4 separate regions of the Homo sapiens genome follow, and all the other regions are linked to region 1. Evidence: promoter capture Hi-C in human tissues and cell types (Jung and others, 2019). All regions are on one chromosome and are shown on one strand. Each heading gives the region's core, a stretch centred on a gene start or on the middle of the fragment in contact. The rest is flanking DNA. Distances are from core to core; before and after follow the strand shown.

Region 1 (7,111 bases), core at 2,335-4,834:
TCTGCAGCCTCAAGTATTCAGTGTGGCTTAGAATCACATTATTTTGTTTTGGATTTCTCAACTAGCCTCATGGATAATCTTCCCTCTTCAAACAATTTATTATCCTGAACCAGATCAGACCTGGTTGTGATGCCGACTTAAGGGGTCGTGCCAAAGTAGGGGCCATACACAGTTCCTGGAGGCTGACTCAGTCCAAGAGTGGCTACTGATTACTGTTGAGAAAGAGATTGATGGTCAGTATTTTTTTCCTTAATATTATTTCATTATGAACATTTTTCCTTGTCAATCAATACATTGCTACCAAAGCAATTTTTGTTGTAGCACATCATTCCTGTCATATAGTTTTGTTTTATTTTTATTTTATTTTTTATTTTTGTGGGTACATAGTAAGTGTGCATGTTTATGGGGTACATGAGATGTTTTGATATAGGCATGCAATGTGTAATAATCACATAAGGGTAAGTGTGGTATCCATGCCCTTAAGCATTTACGCTTTGTATAAAAAACAATCCAATTATACTTTTAGTTATTTTTAAATGCACAATTAATTCATTATTGACTATAGTCACCCCATTGTGCTAGCCAATACTAGGTCTTATTTACTCACTCTAATATTTTATACCCTCAGTTGTTAGTATTAAGACTAAATAAATATTAATCATAAGATCCAAAGGGTAGGTGTAAAGTCAGAACTATGCAGTAAGATAAGATCAGGAACCAAGATAAAAGAAAAATGTCTGAAAACTAAGAGCAATGTGTGTAACACAGCAGAGAATAATATTCACCGTAAATAATTCAAGAAGATTTATCCCAGGAAAAGCAAAGTGAGAGCCCACATTCTCAGTGGGTTCCTCTGTTCTTCTGTCAATGGGAAGTAAAGTATGATGAGCAAGAAGCACAAAGTTAATGGGTCCTCCAGCCTCCTGGAGTGGCTCTCTGCAGCTCTTGGGCAAAACAGATGTCTCAATGACTACGTGGGAGAGTGAGGGGAAAACTCAGAGCCTTTCAAGCAACAGAGGTGTGAGAGAGAAGTTATCAATATAATTCTCATTAGTCTGTTTTTGAGAGATACAAGTTGTCAAGCCCATTTGGGATATTAAATGATAAGGGTTCAGTATTACCCTTCTGTGCTGTGCAAAGGAGAATAGTCAAAAGCATATTTACTGTTCTCATGAAATTTGTAGTTTAACTATGAAGACAAGATATCTGTGAAAAGTAAAGATCACTTTCTGATCAACTAAGTTTTCTCACTTTCTAGTTTTTGTCTTTGTATATACCTCCTTTAAGAATACTTTCTCCAAAATTGTTTCCAGTCTCACTGACTGAGGAAATTTTCAGGACTCAATCCCATGTACAAATGTTGAACATTACATAATCAGTTATACTATATCCATTGTACTTGTGACTGATATAAAAACATATTTTTTTCAATAGCTATTTATTGCATGTCTGCAATGTGCCAAGTGCTGTTGTAGATATTAGGAAAAATGAAGTAGACAAAACATTGTCTTTGTCCTTGTGGAACTTACATCTCAGTATTATAAGTGTGCAAACCCTCTCTTCCTACTAGGAGAAAATATTATTTTTAATCATTCCTTCACAGTGAGTTTCTTAAACTTATTTCATCAGAGACTATTGAAAAGCACACACTCTTCCATCCCCCTAGAATGAGAATCCTGGGGGAGGGATTGGGCAGTCTATCTTTTTAAGAAACTCACTGGATGTTTCATGTGCATTCACAGCTTAGGTAACTCTGGGGGAAAGCACTGCCCTATTAAGAACATACTGCCCAAGGAATTGGTAATATCCATTGTACTATATCTGTAGGACCCCTTTTGATTGTCATTACTAGCCTTTATCAAACATCTCATCCTTGGAGAATGTGAAAGCTCTCCACGGTTTTCCACAGACAGTTCACCTAACAAAAAACAACAAGGCAAACTTTTTCAAGAATACCATTATTTTTAAATAAAATGCCTCTACATGGCAGATGTTATTATGTTCTACTTTGGAGATGAAAAGAATCGAACATTATTAGTCATGATCCACAGAACCAGAAGATTTATTTTAAAGATAAAGTTCAGATGATGAACATAAAGGAAGTTATCTCATCAAAGAAGGCAAGACTGAGTAAATCTCAGAAATCCACCATGTACAATATTTAAAAATGCTCACTAAAGTTGTTCTTTGTGAGTTAATGAAGGTCAGTATAGTCAATATTCAGTACGTAATCCTAGCAAGTACAAATAAAGTTAATATTATTCAAATATCTTACACAGGCTTATTGCATGCAACACACTGTTCTAAGTAACATACAGATATTAAAATGACTTAATTCTCAAAACATGAAGTGAGTTTTTGTTTTTATGCCCGTTTTGCAGATGAGAAAACTGAGGCATAGGGAAGGTAAGTAACGCGCTTAAGGTTACATAGCTGGTAAATTGTAGCCAGGAGTTGGAATCTAGGTGCCAAAATCTATGCTGTTAATCACTAAACTACGCTGCCTTAGTTTTTATACTTCTTTAGGAACCTCAGACCAAAAGAAATTTAGGCAATTCTAATAGAACAAGCAAGAATTTGCTAATCACAGCTTCCTTGCCCCAATCCTTTAATCGGCTTCATTTTCACTGACTTCTTTTTTAAATGAAGATAACAATGTTGTTGAACAGGATCATCTAGTGGTTAGTGGTTCGGCATAAGAATGACTCGCTTCTGAAGCTCAGCTCTAGCACTCGCTTGCTGTATGACCTTGAGAAAGTTACCTCCCCAAGTCTGTTTCCTCATCTTTAAAAGAGAGGTTATAATAGGACCCACATCATACTATTGTTTAAAGAGAAAACAACGTAGCCCATTTAAAGCACTTAGAAAGTGCTCCATAAATATTATTAGTGTAATAAATAGCAGCAACATCAATAAAGTATGAACCAAATGATCTCTTGATTCGTATCCTAACACTAAAAATGGTTTATTTCCCTTCTAATTAAAAGAGAATTACAACAACCAAAACAACAAACGAAACTATAGCCATAAAATCAATTATATCGTCTGTGAGAAAACCGGAAAGGCTATTGGACACATTAATTCACTTGTCATCAGTCATCCCCTCTATTCCAAAATGTTTGTGTTCTAACATCCTGAGACACCTTGCATAATATAATCACTGTGACTCCAAGAGGTCAAATGGGCAGGCAGTTAATGCTTCTCTGTGAAAAGCTCAATAATTCATTTTATAAATTTCAGTTTAAAGCCTGCGTTGAGGTTAAGAAAAATTGACGTTCGGTCTGTGAACTTAATGTCAAGCTCCAGAAAAACTCTGGGCAGCACATGTTTAGCAATTAAGTGGACACAGACAATAAAGACGTTGCCAAATTGTAAAACAAGACTTGGAAATCACAGAAAATGTTGCTAGTTATTGATCACGGTGACCATTCAGTTCCTACTGAGCCACCCAAAAGAATCATTCATTTTCCAGCAGAGAGCCTGCTCATTTGCAAGATAAAAGAGAGACATTTCTGCACATGCCCATAATGTTCTTCACCACTGGGGGCAGCTTTACATAAGACTGCATTCACTGAAACCAAAGCAACAGTCCGAGCAGCTTTCAGAATGACAGTCTGCAGAAGTGAGCTGAGCGTGTGCGCGGTACGGGGCTCTCCTGCCTTCTGGGCTCCAACGCAGCTCTGTGGCTGAACTGGGTGCTCATCACGGGAACTGCTGGGGTATGGAATACAGATGTGGCAGCTCAGGTAGCCCCAAATTGCCTGGAAGAATACATCATGTTTTTCGATAAGAAGAAATTGTAGGATCCAGTTTTTTTTTTAACCGCCCCCTCCCCACCCCCCAAAAAACTGTAAAGATGCAAAAACGTAATATCCATGAAGATCCTATTACCTAGGAAGATTTTGATGTTTTGCTGCGAATGCGGTGTTGGGATTTATTTGTTCTTGGAGTGTTCTGCGTGGCTGGCAAAGAATAATGTTCCAAAATCGGTCCATCTCCCAAGGGGTCCAATTTTTCTTCCTGGGTGTCAGCGAGCCCTGACTCACTACAGTGCAGCTGACAGGGGCTGTCATGCAACTGGCCCCTAAGCCAAAGCAAAAGACCTAAGGACGACCTTTGAACAATACAAAGGATGGGTATGTTTTGTCATTTTTCTTCTTTCCTTCTTAAAAACAAAAAACAAAAAACCTCTAGTGTGTGTAATAATTCTGCCTTAATTATTTTAGAGATTACCTTGCTCTGCTCTAAGACTATGAATTTATTTGCTTAGTGGCATGTTTCCTTGTTTAACTATTTAAAAAAACAAAACACTAAAGACAATTCTCTTTAATTACAAAGAGATAATATGTGATGTTAAGTGTTATTTAGATTTAAATTTTTAAAAATGAAAAATATATGCCTATTTTTGCTTGATTAAGGATTAATTCTTTTTTGGGGGGATAACTTTTCTAAGTTGTTTTTATTTCCAGGTTTCAATGTAATTAGGCTACTGAGCGGATCAGCTGTAGCACTGGTTATAGCCCCCACTGTCTTACTGACAATGCTTTCTTCTGCCGAACGAGGATGCCCTAAGGGCTGTAGGTGTGAAGGCAAAATGGTATATTGTGAATCTCAGAAATTACAGGAGATACCCTCAAGTATATCTGCTGGTTGCTTAGGTTTGTCCCTTCGCTATAACAGCCTTCAAAAACTTAAGTATAATCAATTTAAAGGGCTCAACCAGCTCACCTGGCTATACCTTGACCATAACCATATCAGCAATATTGACGAAAATGCTTTTAATGGAATACGCAGACTCAAAGAGCTGATTCTTAGTTCCAATAGAATCTCCTATTTTCTTAACAATACCTTCAGACCTGTGACAAATTTACGGAACTTGGATCTGTCCTATAATCAGCTGCATTCTCTGGGATCTGAACAGTTTCGGGGCTTGCGGAAGCTGCTGAGTTTACATTTACGGTCTAACTCCCTGAGAACCATCCCTGTGCGAATATTCCAAGACTGCCGCAACCTGGAACTTTTGGACCTGGGATATAACCGGATCCGAAGTTTAGCCAGGAATGTCTTTGCTGGCATGATCAGACTCAAAGAACTTCACCTGGAGCACAATCAATTTTCCAAGCTCAACCTGGCCCTTTTTCCAAGGTTGGTCAGCCTTCAGAACCTTTACTTGCAGTGGAATAAAATCAGTGTCATAGGACAGACCATGTCCTGGACCTGGAGCTCCTTACAAAGGCTTGATTTATCAGGCAATGAGATCGAAGCTTTCAGTGGACCCAGTGTTTTCCAGTGTGTCCCGAATCTGCAGCGCCTCAACCTGGATTCCAACAAGCTCACATTTATTGGTCAAGAGATTTTGGATTCTTGGATATCCCTCAATGACATCAGTCTTGCTGGGAATATATGGGAATGCAGCAGAAATATTTGCTCCCTTGTAAACTGGCTGAAAAGTTTTAAAGGTCTAAGGGAGAATACAATTATCTGTGCCAGTCCCAAAGAGCTGCAAGGAGTAAATGTGATCGATGCAGTGAAGAACTACAGCATCTGTGGCAAAAGTACTACAGAGAGGTTTGATCTGGCCAGGGCTCTCCCAAAGCCGACGTTTAAGCCCAAGCTCCCCAGGCCGAAGCATGAGAGCAAACCCCCTTTGCCCCCGACGGTGGGAGCCACAGAGCCCGGCCCAGAGACCGATGCTGACGCCGAGCACATCTCTTTCCATAAAATCATCGCGGGCAGCGTGGCGCTTTTCCTGTCCGTGCTCGTCATCCTGCTGGTTATCTACGTGTCATGGAAGCGGTACCCTGCGAGCATGAAGCAGCTGCAGCAGCGCTCCCTCATGCGAAGGCACAGGAAAAAGAAAAGACAGTCCCTAAAGCAAATGACTCCCAGCACCCAGGAATTTTATGTAGATTATAAACCCACCAACACGGAGACCAGCGAGATGCTGCTGAATGGGACGGGACCCTGCACCTATAACAAATCGGGCTCCAGGGAGTGTGAGGTATGAACCATTGTGATAAAAAGAGCTCTTAAAAGCTGGGAAATAAGTGGTGCTTTATTGAACTCTGGTGACTATCAAGGGAACGCGATGCCCCCCCTCCCCTTCCCTCTCCCTCTCACTTTGCTGGCAAGATCCTTCCTTGTCCGTTTTAGTGCATTCATAATACTGGTCATTTTCCTCTCATACATAATCAACCCATTGAAATTTAAATACCACAATCAATGTGAAGCTTGAACTCCGGTTTAATATAATACCTATTGTATAAGACCCTTTACTGATTCCATTAATGTCGCATTTGTTTTAAGATAAAACTTCTTTCATAAGTAATCCCCCACATTCGCTGTTAGCCTCCTGGTGGGACCAAATCTACAGTTATAGAAGGTTTGCACCTCACTGGCAAATCAAGGAAAGAGGTGAATGATTCCAGGTGCTCGGAGCTTGAGCTGATTCTTGGAGATGACTCAGTTATGGGAACATTTTACAGACAGGCAGAGCCTTTAAACCAATGCCTGACTTAGAAAAGAAAATTGCAGGAAACTATCAAAAGATGGTGCTAGGTTAAAGCAGCACCCTGAGCAGTTTCCAGAGGTGTCTGAATTACAGTAAGGCAAGCACAGGGACAAAGTGATGAAGGGTTAAAATACTGCAAGCAGACAACTGCAAAATGTGAGGAGATGACAAAAATGTAAAGTTTTCGACTCAGCCTTGTCTCTGAAACCCATCTCTGTAAAATCAGACTAGAGGTTTCACTGCCAATTTCTTCTAGCCTGTATGTTTCATAAATAAATAAATGAAACAGCATTGAGAAGCCAGATTTCTCCACCACACCTCACATTAGTTAGGGAGTTTTCAGATAAGGTTCGCGAATGGGAAAGCAGCTTGCTACAGGCATGTGGTTGAGAGCTTACCAGAATTTCTCTTTCCAGTTTTTTCGAAGACCCTAATGTAGTTAGTAGAATCCTTAGCTCTGTCCTGTTCTGTTCAGAATTTGTCAGGCTGCCCTGTTGTGTTCCATTACATGTCCTGCACACACCAGTCCCCTAATGACAGACACTTCATTCAGATGTGTAAAGAGAACACATTCCAAGACGTGCCTTCCACCCACAGCCT
Region 2 (7,111 bases), core at 1,792-4,291, 1.6 Mb before region 1:
AGAGAATGTATGTAAGAAACTTGTGTATTTGGTTTAGGGGAATTTTAGGCAGACTGTTCATAGCATCAGCTATTTTTATTTTCTTTTAGACGTATACATTATGAGGTATGGAAAAAGAGTGATGAACAAATGAAGGAAGTGTTCATTTGTCAGGCAGAATTTGCAAATATAGGAATTCTAAGTCCAAAGCAAAATTGTGAGAAATAATAAATTGTTGTCTTAAGCCATGGTGTTCTGGGGTATTACAGGGAACAAAAGAATTGCCACAGCATTTATCATTAGATACAACACCAGAAGCCAAAATGCACTTGTTCTTAAATAAAATAATTTCTTCAAGTTAAGTTGAAGATAACTTGAGTAAAGTTTTGTTGTGTTATTTACATTAGTTTGAGCTATATGAATTTGCATATTATCAACCATTTTGTCTTACAAAAATGGTACTTTGATATGGTTCAACTTCATAGGTTTTCCTTACTTTCTCCAGTAAGCTACATCATGTTAATATACTCCTCTCTTTCCTTCCTTTCTTCATTTAACAAATATTTATTCAGTATTTTTAATGGAAAGTACTGTGATAACATAAAAATTCATTAGGCTCAAAAATTTTCACAGCATATTTATAATACAGTAAAATAAAATAATTATAGTATATTTATAACATACTTTATAGTATACAAAGCATTTCTTATTATTTTTTCCATTGTTATCTATACATTGTCATTCTGCAGTAGAGGGGCATAACAATGCATAATACTTCACAGCACTTATGACCTAAGTATATTGGAAAAGTTGCATAATTTACTAAACTCAATTTTCTCATCTGAAATTTACACTTCCCCTATATAAAAATGGAAATGAGAGTGACACTTCCTCTTCTAGCTGTTTTAAGGATTAATGAAAATAATGCATGTAAAGAATTTATAATGCTCAGTTCACTCACAGTAAGCTCCCAAAATGTTAGATCAAAACTTCTGCCCAGTAGTATTATTAAATTAGTATTATTACCTCACTCTTCTAACCATTTCACTGACAAGGAAAACAAGATTGGGTGAGTGTAATTGAAATTTTCATAGTAGCAGATCCAAGTTAAAAATCTATGCCTTTCTTTTGAATACCAGCCCAGTCTTTCCCTAGATCTTGAGACCCACCCTGGCCTTTTGACACCTTTAGTTAACTATTGTACTTAGATGTATTATATGTAGTAGAAATTCTTTAATTTGCCTGTATGTGTCTGAAACCTCCAATATTTGCCTCCCTCATCCTAAAATACATTGAGCTTGAGAAAACCTGACAAAGTTTGTCTTTGATGGACATTTAAACAAAATCTGTGTCTTATGATAGGAACAATAATGGATTAATTCAAATTTTACAGTTTTTTTTTAACCACTGTTTTAGCAGAAAACTTGAATAATGAATTTAGACAACATTTCTTTTCATAGCCAATTTTATATGTGAATTCATTGTCACATAGTATCTGGCTTCTGGCATGTGCAATACATATTTGTAAAGAACTATTTGATGTTATTAGATTATATTGATATTATCGTGTGCCTGCACTTAAATAAGTTGAGACTAATTTAATCTCATCACACATCGCAGGTCAGATTTTATTAAGATTATTCCCATAAAACATTTAAAAATAAAAGCTTAGTGCAGATTTCCTGAGATAAATGTGATATTTTAACATATCAAGACTGTGATGGTCAATTTTATGTTCCAACTTGATGAGGTTAAGGGATGCCCAGATAAACATTCTTTCTGAGTGTGTCTCTCAGAGTGTTTCTAGAAGAGATAGGTGATTGAGTCAGTAGACTGAGTAAAGAAGATTCACCGTCACCACTGTGGGGTTGGCATCATCCAATCTGCTGAAAACCTGAATAAAACAAAAAGGCAGAGAAAAGTTGAATTTGCTCTCTCTGCTTGTGCTGGGACATCCATCTTCTTCTGGCTTGGGACATCTGATGCTCCTTATTTTTGGACTTCGGAACTTACACCAGCTTGTCAGCCTTAGTCCTTGGGTGTTATATCATCAGCTTCCCTGGTTCTTAGGCATTCATCTTTCATCTAAATTACACTACCAACTTTTCTGCCTCTCCTTCTTGCAGATGGCATATCTAACTATTGTGGGGCTTCTTGGCCTCCATAATTGTATCAGCCAATTCTCATAATAAACCTCCTCATATATATCTCTCTATATACTCTATTGGTTCTATTTATTTGTAAAACTCGAATCCACATAAATTCCATGGTGCCTTTAGACTAATATTAAGTCGAAAGATTTTAGAGTCTATAGTCTAAAGACTAAAGTCTAAAGTCTAATGACTTTATATTTGTCTAAAGGCACCATGAAATTTATGTGTATATTTTTAAAATTTTGTTACAATGCCCTGAAAGTTTGCTAGAAACATATGCTGATATTCTATCACAAATAGAAATTTTGCAATGTTTTGACATAGTTCCACTCCCAAAGCATAAAAACAGGAGAGAAGATACTGTTACACTCTATGGTCTTCTTTGCTGTTTTCTCTCTTTGCAGCTCTATCCGAATCCAATCTATCCTGAGCAATAGTTTAGTCTTCCTACAGGCTGGGTTAATTATTTTTAAATATTCTTCTACCCTAGATCTTGGTAGATTATCTGACAATACTATTTTTACCACTTTCTTACTCCAAAATGTTCTAATGGCTTCCTAATTTTCATTGCTTTAAACCAAATTTATTCTCACTGACTTGCAAAGCCTCCCATTGTGTATTCTACTCTTACCTAATCAGTCTTACTTTTCACTCCTCCAAATTGTATCATATGTTTGGATATTACCAGTGCACTACTGTTGTGTAAATGGTTTACTATTTCTGTCTTAGTCTTTGATGATGATGCCTTCACTCATGTTGTCTTCCCCTTTAAATTCCTTCTACTAAGAGGCACACTCCAAATAGTGCTCTATGTTCTCCATCCCCTTACTGACCATTGTCTCATTAATTATTATTTAATGCTTCCTAGGAAAGTGACTTCATACTTACTCCACCCTGTACATTTTCTTCAGTAGGAGAAATGGTAATAAGGAATGCAATATGTGCTCGTGAACAAGGGTCATTGCAAATGCAGCCTTCGTTCATTATAACTGGGAATTCATCTATTTAACCCAAATGTAGTCTGTATATTTTAGGGGTTTGTCCACTGGGGCTGATACTTTGCTTTTTAAAAAATTTGTTTTCAAATCTCTGATTCTTTTTTATTTATGTATCTTGTTTTTTCTCATAAAACATTAAACCCGTTTAATATTTTTATCAACTATTACCGATTCCATAATTATCCAGTTAGTACCATACATATTTTATTCCTGTCATTTGTCATTTGATAAGTATTGCCTTCTATTCCTGAAAATAATTTGAGGGTATTTATTTTTTCTTCTAAATCATAACGTAAGGTACTTCAAGTCGAAGACTTTAGCTCATACTTCAAAGCTTAATAAATGCATAAATATTCAGGCTTGATTTAACTGCTATACCAATTTATAATTAGTTGTCCAGTTGTGAATTTTGACAACAATGTGCTATTTTATTTGCCACTTTTTATATTATTCGCTGCTCTAGAGTCTAAGAATCTTGAAGATCAGTATAATTTCTTAAAATTTTCCTGTATTGCCTTCCAGACTAGCTTTACGCTCATATTTGATACTTAAAACAAATTCTTAGTAGTTGATTCATTGACTGAATTAGAAATGAGTTATCTGACTGCAAATGAAATCCTAAGATAAATATTCAATGAAGCATGGTGCCAGTGTATCTAAATTTAATTTTTGATTTGTTAACTTGACATAAACCTTTGTGGATATGGATGATTAATGCTTTCATTTCTAAAATAATATAAATTTGTATTAATTGGCTTGAGTCTAAGAACATTAATTTAAGCATAATATGTTATTTGAATACAGCTGCTCGCCCACATGTGGCCATCCCCAGGATCACAACTGGCTTGGGTGAAATCCACATACAGAGTCTTACTTTTATTTTGTTGTTGTTGTTTTGATTTGAAACATAGAGTCTTGCTCTGTCACCCAAGCTGGAGCGCAGTGATGTCATCATATCTCACTGCAGCATCTACTTCCTGGGCTCAAGCAATCTTCCACTTCAGCCTCCTGAGTAGCCTCAACCACATGCATGCACCACCACGTCTGACTAAATTTTTGTTTTGTTTTTTGTAGAGATGAGATCTCACTATATTTCCCAGGCTGGTCTTGAACTTCTGGGTTCAAGTGATCCTCCTGTCTCAGCCTCCCAAAATGCTGGGATTACAGGTGTGAGCCACTGTGCCTAGCCAGAGTATTACTCTTCTTATCTCACTTTTGGGAAATCTATTCCTTACTATCTTTATTCCTCTCAAATATGCTACCTTGTCTCCATCTCTTTCATATGACTTTGACTATGCTTCAAATTTTACAAAAACAAGAGAGCTTATCAGTTATCAACTCTCTAAGGTTAGACATGTTTACCTATAATGTTATCTAATATGTATTGAAGTCAGAGATAGTGATATTCAGGCTTATATCAAAAAATTATTCTTTTATCTTTGATTTGGCTCTTATCCTCTTTCCAAATACTCAGTATCTTTATTTCATCAAATATTCTCTAGTATCTTCCTCTACATTTGTTTCTTTCTCTCTGCATAGAAATATGTTGAAAATGCTTCCATTCACAAAATATGTTATTTTGGTTTTAAATCTCTTCTACATGCCCTATCATTTTTCCCCTAACATTTTGGGAAATAGTAGCTTACACTATAAGTACTGAATTTGGTATATCCTGTTCCATCAATGATTTATTTATTTTAAGCTAAATTTTTACCTTACCAGGTCACTGAAAATATTTTAATTAAATTTTTAGTATGATAATCCAATGAGCATCTTTTAGACTTCAGTTTTCTTTATTTCATGGCAACATTTGTCACTACTGACCAGTGTTTCCTTCTTCAAACATATTTTTCTCCCGTGGTTTCTGGGATAATTTTCATTTTCCATTTACATTATACACCTCTGGCCATTTCTCAGTCTGCTCTGTGAATTCCTCTTTGCTATGCATTTTCATATCAACATTCTGCAGGAATCTACATTTTAAATCCTTCTTATCACACTGTATTCTTCTTATGAATTGATCTACATTCAAGGAGCAACTATGATCTATATTTATAATAGATAAACACATTTTATCTCACTTGAAAACATTAATTGATTGGTAGATTTTCTTTATTTACCTTAAAAATCAATCCATGGTTAAACTTGTTTATACAATCTGTAAATATTTGTTCTCTATATACATCCTCACTAGTGTCTATTGAAGCAGTTGGGAGTTCACTGTAACTTGTTTGAAAATTTTTAATAGTCTTTTCATCATAATCTGCACTTCTCTACTCTCATCTTCCTTCAGTCATGCCCTGCTCTGCCCTAGTGTGATGCCTTTTTTTTTTTTTTTTTTTTTTTTGAGGAGTCTCACTCTGTTGCCCACGCTGGAGTGCAGTGGCACGACCTTGGGTCACTGCAAGCTCTGGCTCCCGGGTTCACACCATTCTCCTGCCTCAGCCTCCCAAGTAGCTAGGACTACAGGTGCCCGCCACCACGCCAGGCTAATTTTTTGTATGTTTAGTAGAGACAGGGTTTCACTGTGTTAGCCAGGATGGTCTCGATCTCCTGACCTCGTGATCCGACCGCCTCAGCCTCCCAAAGGTGTGATGCTTCTTACATGCAAACATGACTTTGTTCTCGCCTTCTCAGAACTATTCATTTGTACCACATTGCGTTCAAAAAGAAATCTTTATTGATATGTATGGTATTGAAAGCTCTTTAAATTCTGATTGTATTGTTTCACCATCTCAATCCTGTATAGTTTTCTGACTTCATGCATTATACTGTGTAGATCCCATTTACACTTTGCTCTTGTATGCTTCTTTGCTTTTGCTGAAATGCTCTCTCTTCTTTTTGGTGAAGCTGTTCCTGTGAGTCCCTAACCATTCCTTTTCTTATATTTCCCTGCTCTTTATTCTTAGCCCTTAAAATCGTCAAAATATTAAAATGTTATAAGGTTATAATATATTGTATGTTCATATGCTTTTATCTCTTATAAAATGAATTCTTTCAGTTCAAGTCTTATCTCTTTTAATCTGTAAGTATGAAATAATACTGTGAATGACATTGCATATAGTGACAGTTTTAATTAACAAATATTAAAAGTACAATTGTTGTTATTTAGAATGGCCTCTATATTATATTAGTTCTAAAAATGAATTCATATAAAATGCTGAAAATGTTTAAAAGCAACATATTAGAAGAAATAAGCCTTAGCTGAGAAACAGGGGCCCAGGACTAGTTGTGTCTTGCCCTACTAATTTACAGTGCAACTTCTGGAAAATTATTTATTCTTTTTCAGCCTTAGTTCCCGCCTCTGAAAAATGGTGAGCATGTACTGAATGGCCAAGAAGAATTGTGTATTTAAATGGCAGCAAAGTTTCACATAATTAATATTTTTAAAATGGTCACTTTAAAGAAGCATAAAATATATTTTCAACAGTTGAACAGGTTCATGTCTTCTAATATTTTTTATTCAGGATTATGGATTTTTTAATGAAAGAAGAATAACCTCTTTTTGGTTGTGCATCTTGTTCTACCTAGCCTGATTTTTTAATAGAAATATGAAGGCATGAGATAACAGACCCTTTGGATGACATATATTCCATTTTAGAAGAAAGAAAATGTTCAGGGCTGCCTGTATTTTTTTGGCTGTGCAAAGGTCAAAATATTAAGAATTATCTTTAATATTTTTCTAGCCTGATAATCATCTTTTTTCATATGTCATGCAATTGTCCACCCATGACGTTTTATAACCCAGCCAAGTTAGCCTGATAAAAGCCCTTACATTCTATTACTCATCTAGATTCCATTTGATTACCTCTTTGTATATTGTGTGTTCCTCATATTTCAACAAATGTGAATCATGACTCTAATGATATAATAAAAAAGATGACAGAATGACAAAAGACTTATAGACTGAGTGCATTGGATTTAAGTTATAACTGTTTTATCACTCATTTTTATTAAAATATTTTTCTAACAGTCACTGGA
Region 3 (7,111 bases), core at 3,016-5,515, 1.4 Mb before region 1:
GAAAATACGTAAGAAGGAAAACGAAGGATTCAGAAGAAAAAGATGGAGGAGGTTCTGAGAAAGACCAGCATGAGCAAAGGCACAGAGATGGAAAAGAATATACTTTGCCTTGAAAGAGTTAACACAACAAGCACCGCAGGAAATCTGCCCTCCCCACACCAGACTTGGTGCACAGTCAATGCACTGCAGCCTCTAGAGGGAGGTGGAGTCAAGAACTCAGATCCTATGAATAGCTGCATCCCTGGCCTACGCAGCACTCCTATCCTTTTCCCAGCTTCTTCCCCCCAGCCTCTGCACCCCCCAAAAATGTCAGGAGCCTTCTCTTCAGGACTTCCTAGCTCTCTGGGCAGTGTTTTTAGTGAGATGAATCCATCTCCCCAGCCCCCACCCTGCCAGTTGTCACTGGTATTTCCCTCAACCCTCACTCAGTAGCATTACTTGGGAAAAAATACTACTGTAGGGGTTCAACTGTCTTATAGGTCTAGAGAATGCTACCTTTACCTCTTTTCAACGTTTGCTTCTTTGTCCTTTGTAGGTAAGAAAACAGCTTTATGTTACAGCATTAAGAGTCTTTTCTGGCCAGGCACGGTGGCTCATTCCTGTAATCCAGCACTTGGGAGACTGAGGCGGGCGGATCACGAGGTCAGGAGATCAAAACCATCCTGGCTAACACGGTGAAACCCAGTGTCTACTAAAAATACAAAAAAAAAAAAATTACCCGGGCGTGGTGGCGGGTGCCTGTAGTCCCAGCTACTCGGGAGTCTGAGGCAGGAGAATGGCGTAAACCCAGGAGGTGGAGCGAGTAGTGAGCCAATATAGTGCCACTGCACTTCAGCCTGGGCGACAGAGTGAGACTCCATCTCAAAAAGAAAAAAAAAAAGTCTTCTTCTGTGTGTTGAGAATGTTATGGTCAGGAGAAGGCAGAGCCTAGAGACATCTTAAAGATTAGTGAGTCAATACTTTCAGTAATGCCCCTTATGACTCACACCTTCTTTAAAAAAGGCGGGGTGGGGGGCTTTGGGGAAAACTCATACAGAAGTCATCTTATCAATGCGCAAAAGGAAATTCAGTAACCAAAAGCAAGTTTTATTAAGTGTTCAGGTAAAAGTGAGCATTATTGGAAGGAACTGTACAAATGAAGTGATCACTATCTTCATAAAAAGAAAAAAAGAATGGAGCTGTTCCAGTGTAGAAAAGATTAAATATTTAATTTTAAGATAACCTCATATTGTTCATGGATAAGTCTGCTCCTGTCCTCTTTTCTGGGATTAGCCATAACGAAAAGTCTTCTATTTAAACATATGACTTCCCCTCTGCCAGAATAATTTTATGCTTATTAAAATTTCTGATCATAAGTAATTGCCAGAAACTTCTTACTCTCACTTAGACCTTATTTCTCTAGCTTCTCATCTGCTCTGGCCCTTCATGTTTGGCAGAATGATCAGCTTTTTTGATTCACAATCCTGCGTTTCTACCCTTGCCTTAGGACTAGAAGATACATAACAATATAAGTAAGTGTGGCTCAATCTCACTTCAGGTGTAGGCAGAAGGAGGGAGAGATATTCATAGGTCTATTTGGAAAATGAAGGCATAGCAGCCTTCAACTCTAGACATCTTGGTTCTAAGGATCCTAATAAGCTGATTCAGAGATTTTACATATATATATATGGGATTCAAGTTCCCAAGGACATGATATGTAGACATAAATGGTTTTGGGGTCCAAGGTCAGAATGAAAAGCAGGAAAAGGGGCAGGTTATAAAAGAAATGGACCAGGCATATAGGATAGTACTAAGATTTGAATGTGTCCCCCAAAGTTCATGTGTTAGAAACTTAGTTCCCCATGCAACAGTGTTGAGAAGTGGAATGTTTAAGAAGTGACTAGGTCATGAGGGCTTTGCTCTCATTAATGGATTAATGTCATTGTCCTGAGAGTGGGTTTTTTACAGAAGCAAGTTCAGCCATCTCTTGATCTCTTTTACCCTCTCTCAATCTCTTGCCTTCCACAGTATAATGATGCCGCAAGCTGATACTCACCTGAGTGGACTCCTTGATACTGAATTTCCCAGTTCAGAGTCTTCTGGGCTTATAACTCCAAAAAAGTTTCACTGGCTATGGATGAGATGGGTTGCTAAAATGTGGCTAAGCTTGGTTCTCTTTAGAGCAGCGATCACAAACCCAAATGCCTAATAAGGACAGATATATAAATGAATGAAGCAGATTCTGGGTAAGAGCATTATGAACACAGTGAGTAATTGGTGAAAACTGGCAAAATGAAGAGTATTCACATTGTCTAGTGAGAACAGCTGCTACTCAGTTGCAGGCAATTATTGCCATTTGAAAATAAGGCCCAGTGTTGTCATCTAAAGATTTATGAGGAGCTGAATATCTAAACTTTCAGGTGAAATCTCTTACTAAAAATGTGGACAGGAATTTACAAAGGAAAAACCATACTCTACTGGAAATAATAAAGCAAAGTCTGGTTGCAGACTATAAGTTTGAGATATCTATTTAGGTTTTAAGAAAATCTGAGTTGGCAAGTCAAACTCTAACCCTATCAGGAAATCTCTGAGCATTGGCCTAATAAAAGCTCGACAATGTTAAAAGTTATTAAACTCTGTTATTTCCCGCCTCTCCACTGTTTTCTATATAGACAGGATTTTCTTAAGCTTATTTCTGGCCTCTAACTATACCATTACTCACTTTGTCCCAAAGGGTAGTGAAGGGTAGTGAAGTGACACTTGGTTAGTGAGTATGGGAGCAAGAACTTAGTATGCCTAGCACTCCTCTTCCTTTCTTCCTCTTGAAGTAAACTACTCCTCAGGCAAAGGGACCTGCCACTGTTCTGCCAGGTACTTTATTACTTAGAAAATTGCTGCCCCAGACCTGAGTGGCTTGGTTTCAGTGATTGAATAGTTTGCCCAATTTAGGGATTGTGTTTGAGTGAGCAGACATGCTCAGTGTATGTGAAATAACATTCTGCAGCCTGAGCATTCTATGAGTTATAATTTAGCTTCCATATGTTACTCCATTCTATTTTTCAAATGAAGTCTTATGGGAAAAAGGGCTGCTATTTATCAGTTGCCTCTGAAGAACTTTAACAAATATGTGATCATTTTATTTTACCATCAACTAGTGTGCTGTTTTAAAGTCTGCTAAAATATCATAAAGCTTATTTTGAAAATATCGATCTTGTCCAATTTTTATTTATACATACAAAATCTAGAAGTCAATATCACTGATTTACATAAGGTTGCCCAGAAGTTACTGTCAAGACTATGGTAAAAAGTAAGATGAATTTCTTGTTTTGGGACTTGGAAGTTGTCACTCTCATTCTTACAACAAGAAAATAATCGAACAATTTGAAAAGGAACAACTCTTCTTAAATCTATCTAATAATTGCTGTCACAGGGCAAGCTGCCACCATAAAAACCGGAGAGAAGGGCAATCAACTTAATGATTTGACAACTTCACAACTTTGCAAACCATCACAATTTGACATACTTCGAATTTTGAATTCTGATCTTTGCCTGGCCTAGGACTATGTGGTACATAAGATATTTGACACTTTTTTCTTATATATATATAAATATATACATATATTTGCTCTTTATATATACATATATATGTATATATATATAAAATAGGCTTTGTATTAGGTGATTTTACCTAACTATAGGCTAGTGTGAGTGTTCTGAGTACACTTAAGGTGAACAAGGCTAAGTTCTGTAGGTCTGGTGTATTAAATGCATTTTCAATTTACAAGATTTATGATGGGTTTATCAGAATGTAACCCTATTGTATGTCAAGGAAAATTTCTACTGTGTATCACAGTACTTTCATGAATCTTAACCTTCAGGAGCCTAAATAGATTCTTATGGAGAAGATGAGAAAAAAGTATCCCTTCCTGTTTCCAGCAGAAGGAAGGGAAAAGTAGCCATTTTGAAATGCACTCAGAGCTTTCTGTCCTCCTTAACAAAAGCGTGTCCTCAAGGGAAGCTCTTTTGTCACACCCTAATTGACTTTATTTTTACCAGAGCAAGGTCATTTAATAGAGAAAGCATTGACTTCCCAACAAATGGAACTGAAACAAATACACATCCAATAAAATTTTTTAAAAAAGGAATCTTGATAGTTTTTACAAAAATTAACAAGATAACTTATAGACTTAAATGTAAAATGAAAAACCATAAAAATCTAGAAGATAGCATAGGAGAAAATCTGTGTTGGGTGTAGAGTCTTAAACATAAGACCAAACCGTCATGAAATTAAAAAAAAAAGGCATAACTCAAAGATAGTGCAGGTTTGGTTCCAAACTGCCACAATAAAGTAAACATTACAATGAAGTGAGCCATGCAAGCTTTTTGGTTCTTTCCCAGTGCATATTAAAGTTATGTTAACACTACGCTGTAATCTATTAAGTATGTAACAGCCTTATGTTTTAAAAAGTACAAAGCTTCATTAGAAAATAATTTATTGCCAAAAATAATTGCTAATAATCACCTGAGCTTTCAGCAAATTGTAATCTTTTTACTGGTGGAGGATCTTGCCTCCATGTTGACAGCTGCTGACTGATCAGGGTAGAGGTTGCTGAAGGCTGGGTGGTTGTGAAAATTTCTTAACATAAGCCAGCAGTGGAGTTTGGCATATCATTTGACTCTTCCTTTAACAAAAGATTTATCTGTAGCATGCAATGCTGTTTGGTAGCGTTTTACCCATAGTGTAGCTGCCCAACAGGTTCACCTTGCCTGCTGCCTAGACAGAGTCAATTTATCAAAACAGGAGAGTTGCAACAACAAAAAGAAAATAATTCATGCAGAGCCAGCTGTAAGGAAAACTGGAGTTTTATTATTACTCAAATCAGTCTCCCTGAAAATTCGGGAATTAGAGTTTTTAAAGATAATTTCGTGGGTAGGAGGCCAGTGAATCTGAAGTGCTGATTGGTTGGGTTGGAGAAGAAATCACAGGGAGTCAAAACTGTCCTCTTGCGCTGAGTCAGTTTCTCTATGGGGGCCAAAAATCCAGATGAACAAGTTTATCGATCTGAGTAGTGCCAGCTGATCCATCAAGTGCAGGGTCTGCAAATATCTTAAGTTCTTAGGTTTTACAATAGAGATGTTGTCTGCAGGAGCAATTTCAGAGGGTCAGAATCTTGTAGCCTCCAGCTGCATAATTCCTAAACCATATTTCTACTCTTGTGGCTAATTTGATAGTCCTGCAAAGCCAGTCCAGTCCCGAGGCAGGAAGTGGGTTTGTTTTGGAACAGGGCTGTTACCAACTTTGTTTCAAAGCTAAACTATAAACTAAGTTCCTCTCAAAGTTAGTTTGGCCTACACCCACCAATGAACAAGGATAGCTCAGTGGTTAGAAGCAAGATGAAGTCAATTAGGTCAGATCCCTTTCACTGTAAATAACTTTCGCAGTTATGATTTTGCAATGGCAGTTTCAATAATAGAACTTGCTATACTGGAGTCAATCTTTTCAAGCCCTACCACTGCTTTATCAACTAAGCTTAGAAAATATTCTAAATTCTTTGTTGTCATTTCAGCAATGTTCACAGTATCTTAACCAGGAATAGATCCCATTTCAGAAACAACTTTCTTTGCCAATCCATAAGAAGCAACTGCTCACCCATTCAACTTTCATCATGAGATTGTAGCAATTCAGTCACATCTTCAGGCTCCATCTACAATTCTGCAGTTACTTTCTTCACTGAAGTCTTGAACTCCTCAAAGTTACCCATGAGGGTTTAAATCAACTTCTTCTAAACTGCTGTCGATGTTAATATTTTGACCTTCTCCCATGAATCGCAAGTGTTCTTAATGGTGTCTAGAGTGGTGAATCCCTTTCAAAAGGTTTTCAATTTATTTTGCCCAAATCCATCAGAGGAATCACTATCTATAGCAGCTATAGTCTACAAACCAAAAATGAAATTCTAAGCGCCCCCCAACCACCTCAATGGATCCCTCCTCTTGGCTAAGGGTATTCTGGAATTTGTCTGAAAATCTAGTTCAGGCCATGATGGAATAGGAGGTTGGACATACCTCATTATACTCCTCAAGTGTTAATGTCAACGAAGAACTTATGTCTAATAAGAAACATTTACAATATACTCTCTCTGAAGCCTGCTACCTGGAGGCTTCATCTGCATGACAAAACCTTGGTCTCCCTAACCTCTTATCAGTTTTTTTTTTTGACGGAGTCTTGCTCTGCTGCCCAAGCTGGAGTGCAGTGGCATGATCTCAGCTCACTGCAACCTCCACCTCCCGGGTTCAAGCGATTCTCCTGCCTCCATCCCCTGAGCAGCTGGGATTACAGGTGCCTGCCACCACATCTGGCTAATTTTTGTATTTTTAGTAGAGATGAGGTTTTACCATGTTGGCCAGGCTCGTCTCGAACTCCTGACCTCAGGCAATCTGCCCACCTCGGCCTCCCAAAGTGCTGGGATTACAGGCTTGAGCCACCATGCCCAGCCCCAACCCCTTATCTTAACCCAGACATTCCTTTTTACGGATAATAACTCTTTCAACCAATTGCCAATCAGAAAATTTTAAAATTTACCTATGACCCAGGAACCTCACCCCTTAGCCCTTCTAGGTCCAACCACTGTAGATCTTACATGTATTGATTGATGTATTATGTCTTTCTTAAATGCAGAAAAGAAAGCTGTACCCATGGGCACATGTCATCAGGACCCCCTAAGGCTGTGTCACAGGTGCATCCTTAACCTTGGCAAAGTAAGCTTTCTAAATTGATTGAGACCTGTCTCAGATATTATGGGTTCACAAGTCTTACAAAAGGTATTTATTAAATACAAATACTTGAAAGTCTAAATGACTCCTTGATCCATGGGTTGCAGAATAGATGTTATATGAGGAGCATAAAAACAACAAAACAACAACATTAATCTTCCTTTTTATCTCCATTAGGCTTCTTGCATGACCAGGTGAATTGTCAATGAGCAGTAATATTTTGAAAGGATTTTTTTAATAGTAACTCTCAATAGTGGGCTTAAAATCTTTAGTAAACCATGCTGTCAACAGATGTGTTGTGACCTAGGATTTGTTTTTCCATTTATAGAGCACAGGCAGAGTAGACTTGACATAATTCTCG
Region 4 (7,111 bases), core at 3,194-5,693, 1.1 Mb before region 1:
TTTCTTTCTTTTTTCTTTTCTTTTTTTTTTTTTTGAGGCAGAGTCTTTCTCTGTTGCCTGGGCTGGAGTACAGTGGTGTGATCTCTGCTCACTGCAGCCTTCATCTCCTGGGTTCAAGCAATTCTTCTGCCTCAGCCTCCTGAGTAGCTGGGACTACGGGTGCATGCCACCACATCCAGCTAATTTTTTTGTATTTTTGGTAGAGACAGGGTTTCATCATATTGGCCATTTCAGTTATTTATATGATAATAGTATCATGAATATTTATTTTATTCTGTTTATATTAGAATAAAATCATGGATATGCAGCTGTTTATGTTGTGTCATATTTGGCCATCGAGAGCCCCTTCAAGCTGTGCCTCTTGACATACCGCCATCACTTTTTGGAGCATTTCTTAACTTTATGCTGCCACAAGTTATTCCAGGATCAACTTGAATTTTCCATGTCCCAGGAGTTTTTTTTATTAGACAAAAATATTTAGAAAATAAGATCTTTGCACTAGATATTCTTACTTCTACTACTAGTGTAGGTTTTTTCTTAGCCTTCTGAACAGACATATGCACATACACATATATCTAACTCTATTTATATATTTATCTACCTATGTTTACAATATTTAAGTCAGAATTCATACTGACAACTCTAATTCCAAATTAACTCCATGGAATTCTTTCTAGCCTTTTCTTTCCTTGTTTATAACTCCTTCACTGGAAGAAGAAAATGGACTCTCATTATCTGCAAGGTATTTCCTTATTTACTTGGCCTTAGAATACTTTATATTTTATATAAAATATTTCAAATTTTTTTTTGAACACATAGTTATTTAATATTTAGAAATTTGTAAAATATTAATTTAAAAAATATTTAACCTTCAGATTAATTTATATGAATTTGTAATAGTGGAGAAAATACACTTTCTTTACAAATGCAGGAAAATTTATAAAGGGAATTATATTTAGACCCCTGGAGCCATCTAGAAGGTCATAACTTGGAACAAAACAACATGGTTAAAAAGATAATGCAGACAATGAATTATTACAGGCTAAACACAGAGTAGTGGACAGTGAAAACAGTTACTAGTATTAAAAACCAAAGAAAATGTTTCGGTGCCAAAACGTATAACATTTTGATTAAGAACATGGACTCTAGAGTCAGACTCCTCACATTTCAAATATAGGCTGTATCACTTACAAGCAGAATAATTTCATACAACTTTTGTACCTCATTTCCTCATTTGAAAAATGAACATGATAATAATGGGACCCAAACTTATAGGATTTTTAAGAGGATGTAATGTGTATTGTATATGATTGTGTATGTGACTTTGTATAAGTAAATGATTTCACATAGCTGTGTGATTTTGTATGTACTTGTGATTGTACATGTGTGTGTGATTGTGTATGTACATGTTATTGTGTATGTGATCATGTGAATACATATATATTTGAGCATGTATATGTTTTCCTGCCCATGTTTATGAGTATGTGATTGAGTCGAAGTATGTGATTATAATTGTGAATGTGATTATGAATATATGTTTATGAGAGTATGTGCATGTGTATGTAATATACTTACATATGTGCATGTGAGGATATGAGTCTGTGTAAAGTACTCAGAATGCTTGCCACATAGTAGGTGCTCCCTGGAAGCTAATTGTAGCTAAAAAAGGTAATTGCATTGAAAGGGAGGGAAGACATGGAGGGAAAACAGGCTGAGAATATTTTAACAACAGAATGACTTTGAGTAAAATTAGCACACTTTTGTTTGTGTTCAGAGGGGTGAAGACTGGTTTGGACAATTAGTGGGGAGGAACATTTAAAAGCTACTAAAATGAAAGCAAAGAGGCACAAGGTATCCATATTACCCTGTGAAAAACTAATTTACTAAAAAATACAGTATTTTCATATGGTTCTTTTTGTCTTGTCTTTTAGTATATAGTAAAAATGCCATTTTCAAGGTTACTTCGGTAGGTTCTACATCCTTCAGTGGGGTTGTGTCATTTATTTGTAATACCATTACATTCATTTGTAAGTGAAATCCAGAAGAAGAAGAAAGAAACAGGACAGCAAAACACATTTTAAAAGATATTGGTTGAAAGTTTTCAAAATTAATGACACATACCAAACCAGAAGAAAGACACTTAGATCACCAAAGTAGTATAAATACCAAACAAAAGTAAAAATGAAATAACCTCTGAACTCAATATAAAGTACAATGAACATTTCTAATATCTTTGTCAATCAGGGGCTCTGGTGGAGTCTTGAAACTAGAAAGAGGAATTGTTAAATAAAGAAATTTTATTCTCATTTTTAGCCATTTTATATCAACCAGTTAAATGGGATATTAAGCTTTCTATACAATGAAGGAAGAGGAAATTTCATATAAGCACACTCCCTCTCTTCTCAGAGGCCAGCATTTGAAATCTTTTGCATCTACTTGCAAAATGTAGACATATACAATGTGTACATCCCCCCTCCTCTAGCTTCCCATCTTCTGAGATTCCCTTTTGCCTTTACTTCTCATCCTACACACTTAAAACCACTTACTTAACATTTTGCCTTTATGTAGTAAATATTTGGCATCTCTGCTTATAAGCTTTGTCTCATTTGTGACTTCCTCAGTTACTCCTATAGATAACATTACTATTGTAAAACATAAGATTTGATTTGATTTGTTTTACAGACTGACCTTACCCAGATTCATGACTAATGACTCAACAGGTCCTGTGGCCTCACTCAGCAGCTGACTCAAAACACAAGGACTGTTTTTCACACCCCTGTGATTTTATCTCCAATGAATCAGCAAGCACTCATTACCTGGCCCTTGCCCTGCCCACCAAATTGTCTATATGAACCCTAACCTTTGAGCCTTTGAGAAGATTGATTTGAGTGATCACTGCCATTCTCCTGTGTGGCCAGCCTCAGGTTAATTAAACTCTTTCTCTACTGCAATGGCATGGTCTCTGTGAACCAATTTTGTCTGCACAGTGAGCAGGAAAAACCTGTGGGAGGATGATTATAGTACTTTTCACGGAATCTGAAGCCCTCCTGCCTCCTAGCTTTCAAGTACAACCCTTGCCTTCCATACTGTTCTTCAGATTTTGTTTTGCAGAGTCTTCTTGTGAGACATGTAGAAACAATGAATTTTTGAATCTGCCACATGATTACACCATTCAAGCAAATTCTGATCACCTTCTCTTGCATTAGTACTTGATTTTGTTTTTTTTTTCTCCATCTCCCTGTGCTTTATTTATAATTGATTTAAATTCCCTAGGCCATACCCTTATAGAAACTCTATTACTTTAAGGCATATTTAATAAGTATAAAAATATTACACCCTGATCTTCCAGGTCTTCTTCATTCAAATTTGTTCACATGTTGAACCATCTTGTAGCAGAATTCATCATTATAAGCTGTTTCTCAATTGCTTTTATAATTAATTCCTGATTTACAGCTTTGAGAGAACTCCTTGTATAGATCTTGGGGTCTTAGCTCCTCTGGAGGCATTAATTAATTTGGTACCTGAGTTCCTCTCTTTTATATTTTGTTAGATTTTTTTAACATCTAGTGGCTAATTGACCAATAATAGCTCAATTATCTCCTCTTCTTACTTCTACTTCTTAGTTCCACTTTTGTGTATAAAGTAGATCTCCTTTTTTATTGTATAGACAGACAGATGATAGAAAGATAGATAAATAGCCAGTCTGATCTTTAAGATCTGATCTTTCTCAAGAAGTCACTTCCTTCCATCTGGCAACATGTGTCCCATTTTACTTTTCTTTCATTTTTCCATGTTCAAAATTAGACTGAAGATAATTTTGAACTGTAACTGTTACCATTCACTCTCCTCTAAACACATATGATACCTAGAAGATCTAGGTTTAAGTCTTTTTAATTTTCTCCCCAGACTTTGTTATTACAGAATTACATAAAAATATTTTTCCACCTCAATCCAAGAAAATGACATATTTCCATATAAGGATCCCCACTCATTTTTGTCTGCTTGTCAGTGAGATTAACTAATTCAGTATAATTAACCTACAGCCCAGGTCTATAGACTATAATCAGAGTTTATGAAATAAACAATAAAATTTAGACTATGTGTGATTGGGGATGATTGCCTGCATCCTGGTAAGGACATAATAAAAGGGAAGAGTACAAAACAAACAAAAAAAAGATCTCTTCCAGTCAACTATGCTGAAAAAGACAAGTTGCCAATTATGCTTTAAAAAGCATAGTGAAGTTGTTTTGAGGTAAGACTTACCTAGAAATTAACAACAACAACAACAACAAAATATTATGACAATATGGCATCTAGAATATCCAGGTCTATAATTACATCTGTGGTCACAGTATGAGAAGCTACCAAATGTGCCACCTGTGTCTCACCTGGCCAGTTTCAGCAGATGTACCCAAAGCTTGATTTCCTGTACAGTACTTCAATCAAACCCATCCAGTATCTGTTCTTATTTATAAGGATTTCTTGCCAATTCCTTAACAGTTTGCCGTGGTGAGAGGAGGTATAAAAGTCATTCTAAGAATTATTTATGCCTTGCTTGGGTTTATAACCAATGAAGAGTAGACCCAAGCAACTGGGCCTGGCTGGATATGAATTGAGGATTCATGTGTTAGTATTACTAACTGGCCAGGCAGTTTCCTAATAGTTCACTACTCTGAAAGAATAAGGCCCTCTAATAAAGTTAAATTGGAGAATGCAGCTTAGCTCAATGATCAAAGTGGGGGCCACATTTAGAACTCCTTACATTTAGAACTGCATGACCATTGGTGGAAAGAACTGAGTCTACAGAGATATTATAGCTAATGACATAGAAGATTAGACATAGACCTTTTTCAAGTTCATGACTGCTGGCAGGAGAGGGAACACAAAGGAGAAAAAGATGGGCACACACTGTCTTCTTAATGTAGTGACCCCCCAACTCCTAGTGTAAATATAAGATGTTCAATAATAAGAGTAAATATATTTCCCAGAGGAGAAGACTGAATTAATTAGATGCAAAGAGAGACTAAAAGTGGTTAATTCCTGAAACCTGTTCTTGTGAAGAAAGAAAAATCGCATTTCTTTTTTCTATTAATTAACGTATTTTATTTATTTATTTATTTATTTTAGAGACCTGGTCTCGCTCTGTTGCTTAGGTTGGAGCACAGTGGGGCTTAATCATAGCCCACCGGGCTTAAGTGATCCTTCCACCTCAAAGTCTCAAGTAGCTGAGGCTACAGGTGTACATCACTATGCTTGGCTATTTTTTTTCTATAGAAGTGGAATGCAAAGATTGGTGAACTAAGAAATTTCTTAAAATAAACATTTAAAATTAGTAAAATTTTCAAAAAATATAAGAATAGATTGGAGAAGAAAAAATTCAGGTAACATTTTCAAAAAAGATGTCAAGAAAAGGGTATAATCAAAATACATTAATGTAAGAAAACAGAGTAAGAAGAGAGTGAGTAGAGACTCAGCTACAGGAATATATTTGGAGAAGAAAAATTATTGGAAACAAAATTGGGAATGGAAACCAGATGGCAAGGCCTAAAAAGAATAAGTAAAAGGAGACAAAAAAAACATATTCTTCACTTAAAAGTCTGGTAGAATGTGAAGGTTTTTCCATGATGGGCAGAATTGCACATGCTTACAATAACAGAAGGTCAAGGAAAAAAGGAAAAGTGCCTGGGATGTGAAAAAAAAAAAAGTATTCAATGAGAAGAGGCCTCTTGATTTGGTTCTGGGATTTATTTTATCAAAAAATCTATGTAGTTTCCCAAACATCTGGTGCTAAAAATTAAGGCAATTTATTGTGGAAATTAAGAGGCCAAGAAGGGATGTACAAGGTTTAGAGGAAACGAGGAGGGAAGGCCTTATTTCAAACTGGAGGGGAAATTTTTTCCTCTATAATTTCTTTCTGTTTCAAAATAAAAGTAGATTTTTAAAGAACCCAAGAAGTCTCACAGTTAAATAAAAAGTCTATCTACACTGGACATTTGTAAGTAAAATGAAACCTAACTCTGAAGTAGTGGGGAGGGGAGACAGAACACATGGTGTGTTAAACTAGCATGTGGTGAATGAGACTATGACCATGAGGCCTAGGGAAAAACATCCCAAAGAATAGACATGGGGAGTATGATAGGGAATCAGAATGAAGAAGGGATGCTATGCAGGAGTCTTGCTCTTAGCTTTGCTGCAGGGGTAGCATTACTTTTCTGTTTTTTTTTTTTAGATAGGGTCTTGCTCTGCCCCCTAGGCTGGAGTGTACTGGAGTAAACACAGCTCACTGCAGCCTTGAGCTCCTAGGTTCAAGACCTCCTGGGTTCAAGAGATCCTTCTGCCTCAATCTCTCATGTAGCTGGGACCACAGTCACATGCCACCATACCTGGCTAATTTATTTATTAATGCTTTTTGTAGAGATGGGTGTCTCACTTTGTTGCTCAGGCTGGTCTCGAACTCCTGAGCTCAAGCAATCCTCCCACCACAGCCTCCCAAAGTGTTGAATTACTGACATGAGCCACTGCACTCAGCCAGCATTATTTTTCATGAAACAAGACTACAGGGTAACAGTACCTCCCATAAAATTGCCCTGGAGAGTGATATGTTCTGACCCATCCTCCCAGGTTTGTAGTTAAGTGATATGACAGCTACCACCTTTAGTTCATGTATAGCTCTATGGGGTGTGGGACAGAGCCATGGGGGTTTGTTTGTTTTAATTTGATTTTCTCGTATTTTAATTAACATCAAGGTCTTAGACAGAGTGAAAGGGTTAACTGGGTCTAATTGTATTACATTGGCACAGCAGTAGATTAAAATAAATCAGATTCCTAGGTTTAGAGCTCAACGTGTCAGTAGAACATTTTCCACAAATGTACTGAAGACACCAAAACCACTGTTAATTCTCACCATGCTACTTCGGTAGAGTTTGAGGAAACAAATTATATTTTCCTAATTTCCCCAGAAAAACTGCTTTCATTACTCACTGGGTCAGCTTAATAAGATCTTAATATGATCTTTTAATAGGCATCATTTTTATGAGCCTGGGGTGGAATATTTTTAGCTATAGTAACTCAGAGTTCTTGAATTTTTTTCCCACCAAAATCCTTTAAACAA

What was found. The method cuts DNA at HindIII sites, captures the fragments that hold promoters and counts their contacts. A contact is called where the count stands out against the background at its distance.
Region 2: a contact is called between a fragment that was not itself captured here and the fragment with the promoter of LRRTM3 in region 1, in 1 of the 25 tissues and cell types used here (heart right ventricle).
Region 3: a fragment that was not itself captured here is called in contact with the fragment with the promoter of LRRTM3 in region 1 in 1 of the 25 tissues and cell types used here (dorsolateral prefrontal cortex).
Region 4: a contact is called between a fragment that was not itself captured here and the fragment with the promoter of LRRTM3 in region 1, in 1 of the 25 tissues and cell types used here (dorsolateral prefrontal cortex).

The regions. Positions count from the first base shown.
Region 1 is chr10:66,922,452-66,929,562 of GRCh38, forward strand. LRRTM3 (leucine rich repeat transmembrane neuronal 3) reads left to right here and starts at 3,585. Exons shown (of 3, transcript NM_178011.5): 1 at 3,585-4,136; 2 at 4,470-6,001. The coding sequence starts at 4,133. The region is part of intron 7 of CTNNA3 (catenin alpha 3); the gene reads right to left. The region is part of intron 3 of LOC101928961 (a long non-coding RNA gene); the gene reads right to left. RefSeq lists an enhancer at 2,972-3,828 and a silencer at 3,448-3,557. The HindIII fragment of the contact is 13,899 bases long and covers 1-5,747 here.
Region 2 is chr10:65,359,123-65,366,233 of GRCh38, forward strand. No RefSeq gene overlaps it. Among named protein-coding and RNA genes, the nearest start is that of LINC01515, 210 kb to the right of the region's middle. The HindIII fragment of the contact is 6,059 bases long and covers 13-6,071 here.
Region 3 is chr10:65,555,229-65,562,339 of GRCh38, forward strand. No RefSeq gene overlaps it. Among named protein-coding and RNA genes, the nearest start is that of LINC01515, 13 kb to the right of the region's middle. The HindIII fragment of the contact is 3,718 bases long and covers 2,407-6,124 here.
Region 4 is chr10:65,858,670-65,865,780 of GRCh38, forward strand. The region is part of intron 1 of LOC105378339 (a long non-coding RNA gene); the gene reads right to left. Among named protein-coding and RNA genes, the nearest start is that of CTNNA3-AS1, 220 kb to the right of the region's middle. RefSeq lists an enhancer at 3,869-4,038 and a cis regulatory region at 3,954. The HindIII fragment of the contact is 3,945 bases long and covers 2,472-6,416 here.